Linked DNA regions of Homo sapiens: region 2 is linked to region 1. The links are contacts of gene promoters, found by promoter capture Hi-C in human tissues and cell types (Jung and others, 2019). All regions are on one chromosome and are shown on one strand. The core of a region is centred on a gene start or on the middle of the fragment in contact, and the rest is flanking DNA. Distances in the headings are between cores, read along the strand shown.

Region 1 (7,259 bases), core at 2,330-4,829:
CTCCGTCTCCAAAAAAAAAAAAAAAAAAAAAATCAATGAATCATAAATATGATGTTTATTTTTGGACTCTCAATCTTATTTCATTGATCTACATTTCTAGTTTTATGCCACTACCACTCTGAAGACAACTGTGGCTTTAAATTTTTTAAATTGTATTAAAATACACATAACATAAAATCATCATTTTAGTCAATTTTAAGTGTACAGTTAAGTGGCATAAAGTACATTCACACTGTTGTACAACCATCACCAGAACTTTTCCATCATCTCAAATATAGTATAGGGAAATGTGAGTAAGAGGAACTTTTTTCCTGTTTTGGAAAGAAAAGTTTATCTTGGCTACTCTGGGTCTCTTGCATTTCTATATTATATTTTAGGATTAAATTAGCTTCCTGATTTCTACAAAAGAGACAGTTGAGATTTTGATGGGAACTGGAGATGTGAGATTTGTAGATCAATTTGGGGAGTAACAGATTTTAACAATATTAACTCTTCCAATCCATAAACATGGTATGTCTTCTCATTTATTTTGGTCTTCTTTAATTTCTTTCCACAGTCTTATGTAATTTTCAGTACATAAGTCATGGACATCTTGTGTTAATTTATTCCTATTTTATTCTTTTATTTTTTTTGAGATAGGGTCTCACTCTTGTTGCCCGGGCTGGAGTGCTGTGGTGTGATCACAGGTCACTGTAGCCTCGAACTCCTGGGCTCAAGCAATCCTCCTATCTCAGCCTCCTGAGTAGCTAGGACTAAGGCATGCACCACCACACATGGCTAATTTTAAAATATTTCATAAAGGCTATGTTGCCCAGGCTGGTCTGCAACTCCTGGTCTCAAGCAATCCTCTCACCTTGGCCTCCCAGTGTTGGGATTACAGGTGTGAGCCACTGTGCCAGCTACATTTTATTCTTTTCAATACTATTGTAAATTGAATTGTTCTTAGTTTTATTTTTGGATTGTTCATTGCTGGTGTATAGGCTGTGTGTGTGTGTGTGTGTGTGTGTGTGTGTGTGTGTGGATTCCTTAGGATTTTTTATATACAAGATCATGTCATCTGCAAACAGATAGCTTACCTTCTTCCTTTTCAATTGGATGTCTTTATTTCATTTTCTTGCCTAATTGCCCTAGCTAGAAACTCCAGTACAATGTTGAAGAGAAGTGATAAAAGTGGAATTCTTGCCATGCAGAAAAGAGTGAACATAGCAGGCCCGAGACAATAATCCTCAGAAAGGTCTGCCAATCGGGCTGCCAAAATCCTTTTGTTGTAATGAATCATAGCCATGAGTAGGACTATCTCCTGAGTCCTGTAATCCTTGCGTCAAATCATTGAATCTGGTGTGATCTTGGGGAACCCTAATACAATTTTTGTTCCTGATTTTAAGGGGAAAGCTGCCAGTCTTTCACCATTACATATGATGTTAGATGTGGGTTTTTCATAGATGTCCTTCATCAGGTTGAGGAAATTCTATCTCTATCCCATCCTATTTCTAGTTTGTTGAGTTTTTTTTAATCAAGAAAGGTTAGATTTTGTCAAATGCTTTTTTTATTAAGATGATTATGCAGTTTTTGTCTTATTCTATTAGTAAGTTGTATTATATTAATTGATTTTTTTTAAGTTTCTTTTTTTTTAGTGACAGGGTCTTGCTATGTTGTCCAGCTGGACTTGAACTGGGCTCTAATAACCCTCCCACCACAGCCTCCCCAGTAGCTGGAACTAAAGACATGGGCCACCATGCCCAGCTATTAATTGATTTTCATATGTTAAAACCACTCATTCCTAAATCACACTTGGTCTTGGACTTCTATTAAAAGAGACACAAATTTTAAAAATCAACCAAACAAATACATAATTTCAAGTAGTGAAAGTGCTATAAGAATAAAAGAAAAAGCAGGGTAAGGAAAGAGAGAGCAAGAAAGACGGCGGTTATTCGAACTATATTCAGGGAAGGTTTCTCTGAAATAATGACATTTGATCAGAGATCTGAATGACCTGAAGAAGCGAGACATTCAGAGAAAGATAATTCCAGGTGCAAGGACTAGCAAACTGCAAAAGCCCTGAAGCAGGAACCCGCTTAGTGTGTTTAAGGTACAGCTAGAAGGCCATGTGGGCAAGAGTGGAAACAAAGTCAGAAAGAGATGAGAGCAGATCTTACAGGGACTTGTGGGTCATGGTACAGACATTTGGATTTTATTATAATTGTGATGGGAAGGCACTGAAGCATGCTTTTCAGCCTTCTTAAAAGACCTTTCTCCTCCTTAGTTTTCTGGCTAACTCCTATATGTCTTTCAAAATCTAGCATCATCTCCTCTGTGACATGTTCTTTAACTTCCCTGGTAAGATCAGTCCCCTCCTCTGTGACATCTCTGAGTAACAGATTACTGACCTCTTTTCACACTCCTAGTGACCTCATTTGTTTATTTTTTTCACAGAACTGTGTCTTTTTCATATTTTTAACCTCACGTCTAACATAGTGGTGAGTACTAAAGAAACGTTTGATAGGCCAGGCGCGGTGGCTCACGCCTGTAATTCCAGCACTTTGGGAGGTCGAGGCGGGTGGATCACCTGAGGTCAGGAGTTCGAGACCAGCCTGGCCAACATGGTGGAACCCTGTCTCTACTAAAAATACAAAAAAATAGCTGGGCGAGGCAGGAGAATTGCTTGAACCCAGGAGGCGCAGGTTGCAGTGAGCCGAGATCGCGCCATTGCACTCCAGCCTGGGCAACAAGAGCAAAACTCTGTCTCAAAATACAAACAAGCAAGCAAACAAAGAAATGTTCGATAAAAGAAAAACTCTGAGTCATTCAGTGGTGCAAGGTTGGATTCCTTTCAGACCCGACGTAGTTGTCGCCCTGGGAGGTCGGGTGCATTACTTCCCCCAGAGAAAGGTCTTGGGTTTCGGGGATAATGCCCTGGCTGAGAATGCCTCCTAGGGGGAGATCCAACTTCCCAACCGTCAGGTGCTTGCTGTGTTCCCTTTGCACGTCTCTGCCCGTCCTTCCTGGGTGGGACCTTGGTTGGCGGTGAGTGGGGGAAACTTCAGGCTTCCCAGCTCTGCCTCCGAACACTCCTGGCAAACACTTTCAAGGCCTAATCACAAACCCAGGTCCCCCACTTTCCTCTGTAACAACGGAAGTCCCAGCAGCGATGTCCACTCCTGTTCTGGGGCCAGCGTCGCACCGCTCACCCCGCACCTCATCCCTCCGCTCCTCCTTCCTTCTCCTCCACACCCTCTCGGCACCGTGCCCCCTTTCCTCACCTAGGATGCGCGTGATGCCCAGGGTCAGCTTCTCCAGGTGCGGCTTGCTGCAGCCCAGCCCCGGGGACGATGCCTCCTCCTCCATGGCTCGCGACCGCGATTCGCGCGCGGCGGGAGCGGGTGGAGGGCCGGACCCCGCCTCAGCGCCGAGGCCAATTTCATGGCATGCCGGGAACGGTAGTTCTCGGCGCCTGAAAGCGCGGCGCAGTGATGATGGGGGCCCGGGGTTGGTCTGACAGCAGCAGCTCCGTGGGGCGCCGGTTCCCGCGGCCCCGCCCGGTGCCCCACACCGCACCTCCGGGACGTAGCTTCCCCTTCGCCCCCACCCTCTCGCCCCGCAGGGGCCGGCCGCGCAGGCGGGGGCGGGCCTCTGCGTGGTGCGGCCAATGGGGACCGAGCCTGCAGGCCGAGGCGTGGCGGCCCAGGCGCGACGCCCCGAGTGGCGGTTGTTTCAAGATGGCGGACGTGGCGGGCCCCTCCCGCCCCAGTGCCGCGGCGTTCTGGAGCCGGGACTGTATCCTTTGCCCGCCTGACAGGGGGCGCCGGCGCCCTCCACGGGACGGCGAGGGGCGAGCCGTCGCGTGGCAGTCCGAGAGCGGAGGAGAAGCTCCGAACTAACCCCGGGGATGGGGACGTGCTGCTCGGCCCCAGTCTAGGTGCTGGGCTCTCCCCTTGCTTGGGTGTTAGGTGGCCGAGAGACTGGTACTGTCTGCAGGTGTGGGGACACGGCTCAGATGCTTCCCAGCGCTCACTACCGGTGAGCTCGAGAAAGATAGCCTTGAGTCCAGGCTCAGTCCAGGGCTGAGATGGCCCTCCGAGGTCCCTCTGCCCACCCTGTCAGAGTGCCCCCAGGCTGACTTGAGTGTGCGGAGCTAGCTCGAAGTTGAGGGAGGAGTCGGTGTTGGCTGGACAGGGAGCCTTTTTGTTTTGATTTAGGATTGTCTTTAGTCTGCATTGCTAGGAGCAAGTCAGGACCTTTCGGACTTAAAAGGCCCTCCAGTGATGATGTATTTTAATACTGGGGTTTTAGGAGAGGTGTGGAGCTTGGTTACTGGGATGTGGTCTGGTGGTGCTGGTTACTGCGTAAGATGGGAATCATTGTGCCTGGAAGTATTGTTGACTTACTTGTGGAGTGCGGGTCACTGGCAGTCATTGAAGTTCTTGGATCGTTGTGAGGTGGAGAAGCAGTGGAACTTTTTAGTCCAGTGGTAGTATTACCAGTTCAGCAGCAGTGATGAGATGTTTGTGTGACAGGAGTGTTTCTTTCCTTGGAGTAGGTAGACTCTTCTCGCTTGAGCTTTGGTCCTGATAATTTACTTCACGTTCCTTAGAGGGGTTACTTGAAAGAGGGACGGCAATCTGTGTTACTGAGTGCTTGCAGAGGCAGCTCTTTTTGTGTTTGCTAGGATTGGTGATGGCATTAATTGAGGCGTTGCTGTTACCTTTGGCAGAATCACTGGGCATTCTTCTTAGCTCCCAGTGAAACTTACAAAACTGTGTTATCAACTCCTTTGTTGAGTTACTAGGATTAGTGTCATGTGTAGAGAGAGGGATATGTTTGTATTCTGTGCTGCTCGTGTTTAGTGTTTGCACTTACTAGACATAATTACCATTTGTCTCTGATAGGTTGGTGAAAAGCAAATGAAATCATGTACATACACTGTGGATGAAAGCATACTAGTGCAGTGTGCAAATTAAATATTTTTTCCTTTACCTTTCAGAAGAGAATATGTGCACTGTGGACAACTGGGCTGAATTAGGAAGTTAGGAAATTGGGATAAGTCTTTTCTCAAGAAACACTGCTTCTGCATTGACATAATTTTGTGATGGAGGAGATACTTGAAGGTTATTAGCTTATAGCATCCTATGGTACTGTTCAAATATAGAATCAATGGTTTGGGGGGGGGACAAGCTATTGCAATGGGACTGAATAAGTGTATTAATAGATATATGGACTGAACCTAAGCTCTTGGTCTTCGCACCCAGTACTTTCACTTACTCATGTAGTTATATCACCCCCTATTTTATGTAGAAGTCATATATACTCCGTTATCTCTTGTATTCTGACTCCCAACATTTAATGTAAAATATTCGTCCTCTCATAGATAGTGAGGAATTGAAATTGTACAGGGGAAAAATGGTGGCGATTATATCCTATAAGATCTAATTCAGATGTATGAAAGGAATTGCAAAGTTGCTAGTGTCACCTTTCCCCTCAGACTATTCCACGTAATGACCAGTTAACATCGAGCCTCAGATATTTTCATTTTAAATCTCCATAGAGAATGTCACTGTAAGCAATGTCAAATGTAAATTTGTTACTGAATATTTGCTGAAAAGCATAATGATAGTTATTAATCATTTGATTTAGTTACATGTCTTTGCATCTTGATTCCTTTGTCATATTGATTATTTCCCAGACCACCCTAGAGCCTTTATAGTAGAATTTTCAATAGAAAAAGACCAAAAAGTAAGTACCTATAATCTGGTATTCTTTTCACACTATTGAAAAAAGATTTTCAATACTTCACCTAAACATTTAGAGAAATGTGATGGAGAGATTTCTTAGTCCTTGATGTTTCCATCATGAGAGGACAGATCATCTGTGACTCAATGGCACCTTTTTTTTTTATTGTTGTTGTTGTGAGTTATACATCTCCTGCACAGTATGATTCAGCAGTGCTGTTTTGCACAAGGAACGTTTTAGTACCTCATCTGTAAACAATGAGTGTGTGGTGTTGTCATGTTATGGGTTAAATCTTCCAGCAAAATATGCTCCTTCAGTTTAAGTTGCCTTTGTCCTTCATTACAGTTCCTAGTAATGTCAGAATGAGTTAGTGTTTCAGCAGTACCTAAATTTGACTGCTTAAATGCACTCAAGTGTATTACCATTAGCAATATCATGGACTTGATATTAAAAAATATGAACTGCAAGTGACCTGGTCAAAACATTGCAGTATAATCTCTGCTGTTGAGTTTTCAAATGGAAACAAAGACTGTATGTTGTGGTAAAAATAATATATTAGCCCAGAAAGTCTCTGTGGTTGATAATAATTACATATACATGTATTGCTGGCAAAACTCAGCAGATTAGAGTAGAATGGGCAGTACTGAACTTATTTCCTTCAAATCCTGGAGGTCTGGGATAGAGGTGCATCTTCCTCTCTACCACTTCTGCCTGGGTTTCTAATTACAGTTAGCCCTCTGTATCTGCTGATTCATTCAAATGTGGATGGAAAATATTTGAGAAAAAAAAGAAATAGCACACAAAAAAATACAAATTAAACTGTACAATTTAACTACTATTTATATAGCATGTACATTGTTTTAGGTATTATAAATAATCTAGAAATGACCCACTAGTAGGCCCACTATACATTTGGTATATAATGTGTCTGTTTGACTTCCCCATAAAATATACATTTGTTGGGAAATTCTAGATTTGAAGGAGGTAAATATTTGGGTTCTTAATATAATGAGATGAAAATACATTACAAATTATTAGAAAGGATAGAGGCAATTTCAAATATTGTTATTAAAAATATTGAAGTAGTTTGTTTAGAGTTTTATATATTTGAAAATAAATTTGTCATGGATGTAGCTGAAAGTAAAAGGTTTTGTTGGCCGCTTGCGGTGGCTCACACCTGTAATCCCAGCATTTTGGGAGGCCAAAGCAGGTGGATCACAAGGTCAGGAGTTCAAAACCAGTCTGGCCAACATGATGAAACGGCCGTCTCTACTAAAACTACAAAAAAAATTAGCCAGGTGTGGCGGCGGGCACCTGTAATCCCAGCTACTCGGGAGGCTGAGGCAGAGAATTGCTTGACCTAGGAGGTGGAGGTTGCAGTGAGCTGAGATCAAACCGCTGCACTCCAGCCTGGGTGGCAGAGCGAGACTCTGTCTCAAAAAAAAAAAAAAAAAAAAGTTTTGTTTGCATATTTAGAATCACAGAAATATAACATATAAGGTTGTTGGACAACACCTCATAAAATTAAATCA
Region 2 (7,259 bases), core at 1,872-4,371, 150 kb before region 1:
GGTGCATGCCTGTGGTCCCAGCTATTCAGGAGGCTGAGGTGGGAGAATCACTTGAGCTCGGGAGGTCAAGGATTCAGTGAGCCATGATCATTCTGGCCTGAGTGACAATGAGACCCTGTCTCAAAAAAAAAAAAAAAAAAAAAAAAGAAGAAAGAAAGAAAGAAAGAAAAAAAGATACTTACTCTAGTTTTTAAAATTTTCCTTGCCAAATACCCACTGTCAGATTAAGAAAGTTTTCTTCTATTACTAAGCATAGTAAAGGGTTTTTTTTTTTAAACAAATGGTTGTTGAATTTAAAGCTTTTTCTGCATTTGCAGAGGTAGCCATGGTTTTTCTCCAATAAACTATTAACGTGGTAAATTGTATTCATTTATACTGTCATCTTACATTACCCTTACATTTGTTGGGCAAACCCAATGTGATTTTGTTTCAGATTTTTGCGTTGGTGTTCATAATTGCAAATAGTATATAAGTTGCCGTCTTCACACTGTTCTTATCTGGCTTTAGTGTCAGAGTAATATGAATCATGTAAAATGGGTTGTGGGAGATTTTTTCTTCTTTATGTTGTCTGAAACTTTCCATATGTCTAACTTGAACTCTTCCTTGAGTAGTAGAAATCACATTAAAAATCTGACTTTCGTGGATTTTTTTTCATGGGTGTGAATATATTTGTAATTAATTAACTCAATTTCTTTTGTTAACAGGGCTATTCAAAATTTCTATTTCTTTCTCAATCAGATTTGGTCAATTATATGTTTTTAGAAAATCATCCATTTCTTTAATTTTTCAAGTGTATTATAAAAATTTCCCCTTATTTTTGTAATGTTTTTTGGTCACTATATCTATAATTGTATTTACCTGTCATTCCTGAATATGCTCATTTATGGCCCTTTTTCTTGAATAATTTTGATGGAACTTGTCTATTAGGTTTTTCACAATTATAAACCAGCTTTTAGTTTTGTTGATTTTTGTCTATACACCTTCGTTTTCCTATTTTATTAGTCTTTGCTCTTTATTTTTTTCCTTTTGCCTTCTTTGAATTTATTCCACTGTTGCCTTTCCAATTGTTGAGCTGATCACTCATTAATTTTTACTCTTTCTTTTCTTCTAATATAAATACTTAAGACAATAAATTTCCTTCTAAATACTACTTTAGAGGTATTCTACAAAACTTCATATTCAGCTTTTTCATTATGGTACCCTTTAAATGTATTCTAATTGTCCATGTTTTTTTTTCTGACCTAAGTTATTAGACATGTTTTAGTTTTTCCAATTATATGGATTTTTTTCAAATTTATCTCCTTGTTATTGATTTTCAATGCAGTTGCATTATGATCAGTAAGGTAGCTCGTGTGAAACCAGTTTGTGGCATTCATTCTTGAGCTTTGTGACACAATTGATGGTCAATTTTTGAGTAGTCCTTATATATTTGAAAGAATATGTTTTCTCCCATTTGGGCACCAGGTTATATACATGTTAATCTATTAGATAAAACTTATTAATTGGGTTAAACAAATCTATTATATGCATAACAGTTTTATCAATTACTGTGCAAGAGGTATTACAAACCTCTTTACTCTGATTGTTGATTAGGTTTGGCTGGATACAGCAGGGAAGAATTCCCACAAAATAATAATAGCTTACAAAAGTTAGAAGTTTGTCTGAACTTATTTTATGAGGAAGATAAATAAACTCTATCTATGCCTTAGTGTCCAGAGCTGATGGAAATAGTTCCATAGTGAGCCTGGAATATTGAATTTGGTTACTCCCTCCCTGTAGCTGCCAGGGATGGTGGTTTCTTCCCTCCATTTTCCCTGCCACCTATGAGTGATAGCCATAGGTGACTCACCTTTTCTAGGGAGAACATCTGTGGGACTCATGGCAGTCTGTAATATGAAAGTCACATCTTTCTCCTGCACTGAGATCTGTGTTCCCCACCTTGCAGGTATATTTTTCACTGAATCCAGGTAGGATTTTACCCAAGCTATATCCTTGGATAAATAAATTGGCAAAATATATTTCATAAATATTTTTCTCTTTGTTTTGGAGATTTTTTTCCATAAGTGAAGGCCTCAATTGTCCATAACAGATTTTATTCTCCAGAGATCCATCAGACTCCTTTACATAGCTAACCCCTTTCCTTATATGTCATACGGTTACTTGATTTTCTCTTCTCCCACTCATTCTCTGATTTAACATCTCCTGTGATACTCACCCTGTGGTTTCTCTCCAAGGCTTTCACACACATTTTCAGTGAACAGTCCAGACTCTTGTGTGATGTTACTAATACCACTGCCTGTCCTTTGACCATGCTGAGTCCTTGGATGCTTCTTGACATAGAATGTCATAGAATGAAATTTCCTTAATTCTATTCACATTTCAGCCCATTGCAAGTTTTTTTGTCCTCATCTGTCATCTCATTGCCTTGTTCAATTATTCTAAAGAAGTGTATTGTGAGACTGATATATAGTAAAATATTTTTAGTGCATGTATAATAGAAAATAGTTTTATAAAATCACTTTTTTTAAAATTTTAGATTTGGTGGTACATGTGCTGGTTTGTTAATCGGTATCTTTCATGATGCTGAGGTTTAAGCTTCTAATGATCCTGTTACCCAAATAATGAATGTATTACCTGATAGATAGGTAGAAAATAGTTTTAGATTGAAAGCTGATTCTAGCTCATCTACGTCTTAACATAGACCAACTGTAAAATATATATAGAATGTATATACATTCCTGGAATACTTCTATAACTCCCATTCTTGAGGGCTGCTTACATGTCAAGCATGTTGCTTGCTATTTTCTGTCTGTTACCACCTTTTCTCCTGCGAGCACACTCACAGTATGATACTTTTCCCCAATTTACAGACAAAAATCTGAAACAAGAAGACCCGAGGCATTCAGTGATTTTCCCCAAGCATTGCCTAGGTACCGGCAGACCCTCAATTCTAACCAAGGTCTGACTGGTGCTTACTTCAGTACTTTTAATCACAGGCCAAGCAACTGAAACATTAACTCATTGTATCTCCAGGTCATCACCGAGTGGTCTTCTCACATCATCCTTCAGGCAGCACCAAGAGTCACTGGCAGCAGAGAGAGAGAGGCGGCGGCAGGAGAGAGAAGAAAGGTTGCAGAGAATAGAGCGGGAAGAAAGAAACAAATTCAGGTAAGAAGGATCTTAAGATTTTTTTTAAATAGTGAGTTAAAAATTAAAGGCATGTGACTTTACAACTGTATACATTTAATATTGGCATTAAAGGAAGTAATGAAAATTCTGTCTGTATTTTTAAGGAAGAGAAAGACATACCTGAAATAGGCTGGATCTGGTTTGTTATGGCTTTTGTTTCTCTAACCATATGGCAGGAAGCACAGTCAGCCAAATACAATTAGGGACTCATGTATTCTTGGGCCCTCCATTACCTACCTCGTCCTATCCAGGCCCTCCGGATGACAGAGAGTGTAATTATCTTAACTTAATTTGCCATCTCTTCCTAATGGTCCTCATGTTTTATTCATATTCTATCAGATGCCCAAAAAGAAATGCTTTTCCCACTTTCTGGTTTGCTTTTTGATCCCTGTAACAATCTTCAATATTTTTTGTAAACAATAATCTCTTGCTATGTGGGGGGAAAAGTCATTGTGTTGATTACTCTCAGCCCATTTCCCCCGATCTCCTGGTCTCTGTACAGCTTCAAGGATGTGTTCCTGGCTATAGCTCATTCCAGGTTCCATATCTTGGCCTGTCTGTCCCCACTGATCCCAGTGTGCCTCGGCTTCTCCTTCAGCCAGTCCACCTGTTCTCCACATTCTCCAGGTCATCCTCCTTCACACCCATCCCCTGGGCTTCATGCTGTGCTGTGCTTTATGGAATGAAAAACAGTTGCTGTATCTCTCCTTACACATTACTTCCTTCTCCTCTTCCTTATATCCTTTTTCCCTTTTCCCCCTTTCTTCCCCACCTCCTCCTATACTTTCTCTTCCTCCTTAATCCTTTGAAGTCATTTACCCTATAGCTTCTACATTCTTTCTTTTCATTTTTCTCCCCATCTCTACCTCCTGTTTCCTTAGTTCAGTTTCTTTGGCAAACAATATTCCCATCAATTATTCCCCATTATATCTACAAGGAATGTAAGGCATTGTTAATGAGGATTTACAGATTTAATAACGTGTTTTTGTTTTGTTTTGTTTTGTTTTTTGAGACAGAGTCTCACTTTGTTGCCCAGGCTGGAGTACAGTGGCGCAATCTTGGCTCCCAGCAACCTCTGCCTCCTGGGTTCAAGTGATTCTTCAGCTTCAGCCTCCCAAGTAGCTGGAATTACAGGCCACACCACCACGCCTGGCTAATTTTTGTAATTTTAGTAGACATGGGGTTTTACTGTGTTGGCCAGGCTGTTGAACTCCTGACCTCAAGTGATCCACCTGCCTCAGCCTCCCAAAGTGCTGGGATTACAGGCATAAGCCACCATGCCCAGCCAATAACTTGTGCTTTTCTGAAGCCAAGAAGTATATGTGTAATTGTAAAAATGATCAAAATATGAGCACAGTTGTGAAGTTGCTTAACTATAAGTCACTACTTCTTGAAAACAAATGCCAAGTCTTTGAAATGCTAATCCTCATTTTTCTAAGACTGGGTGAATGGGCTGCATGAAGTAAACCAACATCATTTCCCATCAAGATAGTGTAGCATACCCTCAGCTGTCACATTTCTACCAAACGATATTTGGAAATGCCAGCTCTGTATGCACCATTTTTCATGAGGGTAGTTCTGGAAGTTGTCACTTTTAGAAAGGCCAATTTTTTAAATCTCTGGAACAGGTTAAATGCTTCCTGATTTATGGTTTTCTGGGAGATTGGCATATTTTACCACCAAATAGCAGCAGAGAATCTGAGTGAAATACATGGAAAATTCAGAGATTAGCTTACATCCAAAGTGTTTTATTGAAAACCTCTTGAAACAGGGTGCTGGTTCTGGGGAAAATGGAATTCATTCACTCCATCCTGTCTCTCCTTCATTGCTGAATGCAACCATAAGTCATGGAGAGAATGTGTGAAACTCTGAAAACTCTGAAATATAAAAGAGAGCAGGTGAAATTAGGAAGGGAGACTAAAATTCAGTTTTACAAAACCAGTGAGAGTTTACCATTTTTTACCTTCACTATTACTTGGCATGTACTCAAAGGCACCCAAACCTAGAAGTGTATGTCAAATCTGGACCAAAAGAACCCCAGAAGAAGTCCTCTTTTTCCAGACCAAGGCACAGTAAAGGGAATTTCTAAAGATAAAAGTGTAGAGAATTCCTGTTATTTCTTTATCTCCTACCCTAGCCTCCCAAACAATATTGCTACAGAAGCACAGCAATGGCAGCAGTGTCCAGGCAGTTGCCTGAAATGGGAGAGAGGGGAACTCTTCCTCTGACCATAAGAGCTATGACCCCATGATCACTAGGCATATCACTTTGCTCTCCTCCTGCTATATTGTCCTAGATGCAGATGCAGTTACCAAAAGTATGCAGCAGGACAGGGAAAGTAAAGCCCAAGCCTTCTGGCTGGAGGACCATAAAAGGAAACCCAAGGAGCCAGAAAGTGTTAGGAAAGCCACAAAGAGCCAGGATATCAAGAGAGCACTCCTGAATGCATGTCTGATTTGTACACATGTGGCTTCAAACCTACATGGCATGCCATAGGCTTTGAGAACTAAGTACAGAGTGGGAGTGGATCACCACCCAGATCCCAGAAAACTGAATTAATATTGGAACCAATGTCTGAAGGCAGGTTACAACTTGCAGGTTGAACTTAACCCGGTTGATTACCTGCTAATACAAAATAAAACAAAAATCAAGATTCTTTGTAGAATTTAAATAAGACCTCAAATCTCATTACAAAATATGTAAAATGTACAGAATACAATCCAAAATAACTTATCATAAAAATAATTAGGAAAATTTTAACTCAAAGGGAAAAGAGAATTAAAAGATGGCTAACCACAAAGGACATAGATATTATACATTTAAAGACTTTAAAGTAGCTATTATAAACATGCTTTAGGAAGTAAGGGCAAATACTCTTGAAACAAATGAAAAGATGTCTCTGTAAAAAAAAAATAAAAGATATAAAGATCCAAATGGAAATATATATAGAACAGGAAAATTAAAATAGAAAATTTGTCAGATGGGCCAAATAGAATTGCTATGAGAGAAGAAAGTGAACTCATTGCTATGAGTGAACCTGAAGATAGAACAACAGAAATTTTCCTACCTGAAAACTAAACACAACAAACAAAAATTGAAAGAAAAATGAACAAAGCTGTAGGGACCTGCGTAATAACATCAAAATGTCTAGCATTCGTGTCATCGGAGTCCCAGAAGTATAGGAGAATAGGACAAGAGTGCATTGGTTTTTTTTGTTTGTTTGTTTCTTGAGACAGGGTGTCACTCTTTTGCCGAGGCTGGAGTGCAGTGTCACCATCTTGGCTCACTGCAGCCTCGACCTCCCAGGCTCAGGTGATCCTCCTACCTCAGCCTCCCAAATAGCTGGGACTACAGGCATGTACATGGGACTACTGGCTAATTTTTGTATTTTTTTGTAGAGATGAGGTTTCACTGTGTTGCCCAGGCTGGTTTTGAACTCCTGGGCTCAAGTGATCCTTCTGCCTCAACCTCTTAAAGTGCTAGACTTATAGGCATGAGCCATTGCACCTGCCCATGTGTTATAATATACAGGAATTATGTTATTCATATGTATATGTTGGCAGAGTAAGAATTAGGCCTGGAAAGGTTGTCATCAGAGGCCATGCTAATAACTGTTAACCATTTGCTCTTGATTTCAAGTGATTCTAACTTGTCATTTAAGAACACAGAGAGACCTTGGCAAAATGGCCCTCCTCCACTCATCCAAAATGAATGCTAATCAACCGTAGGCAACTACTAATTATGGTGACTGCAGTTCCATATTTCTGAGGATGTGAATGAAAAGAAATTCAAAAAATAAATAGGAAAAGCTTTCTAAAGTAGTTCCTGAGGTTACCCAAATGACTGACCTTTTATCAGCCATTTCATTGATTTAAATTGTTTATGCTCCTCGTGCTTTTTGCAAAGCATCTAAAAGTTGTTCTTTATCTATTGTCATTTTTGTTGAATATGGTCTTAAGCTTTCTGAGTTATAGGAAATTTAGTTCTAGTGTGGAAAGTGATGAGGTTGGATGTTTATAAACGATGACAAATCTGAGTCCTTGTTGCATTTTTCTCCCGGTCCTACACTG

The links. The method cuts DNA at HindIII sites, captures the fragments that hold promoters and counts their contacts. A contact is called where the count stands out against the background at its distance.
Region 2: a contact is called between a fragment that was not itself captured here and the fragment with the promoter of TPGS2 in region 1, in 1 of the 25 tissues and cell types used here (aorta).

The regions. Positions count from the first base shown.
Region 1 is chr18:36,825,423-36,832,681 of GRCh38, forward strand. TPGS2 (tubulin polyglutamylase complex subunit 2) reads right to left here and starts at 3,580. Exons shown (of 7, transcript NM_015476.4): 1 at 3,261-3,580. The coding sequence starts at 3,345. KIAA1328 reads left to right here and starts at 3,705. Exons shown (of 10, transcript NM_020776.3): 1 at 3,705-3,774. The coding sequence starts at 3,717. RefSeq lists enhancers at 2,940-3,049, 3,150-3,942 and a silencer at 3,340-3,939. The HindIII fragment of the contact is 11,405 bases long and covers 1-7,259 here.
Region 2 is chr18:36,678,403-36,685,661 of GRCh38, forward strand. It overlaps FHOD3 (formin homology 2 domain containing 3), which reads left to right. Exons shown (of 29, transcript NM_001281740.3): 15 at 3,034-3,168. Among named protein-coding and RNA genes, the nearest start is that of TPGS2, 150 kb to the right of the region's middle. The HindIII fragment of the contact is 3,349 bases long and covers 1,448-4,796 here.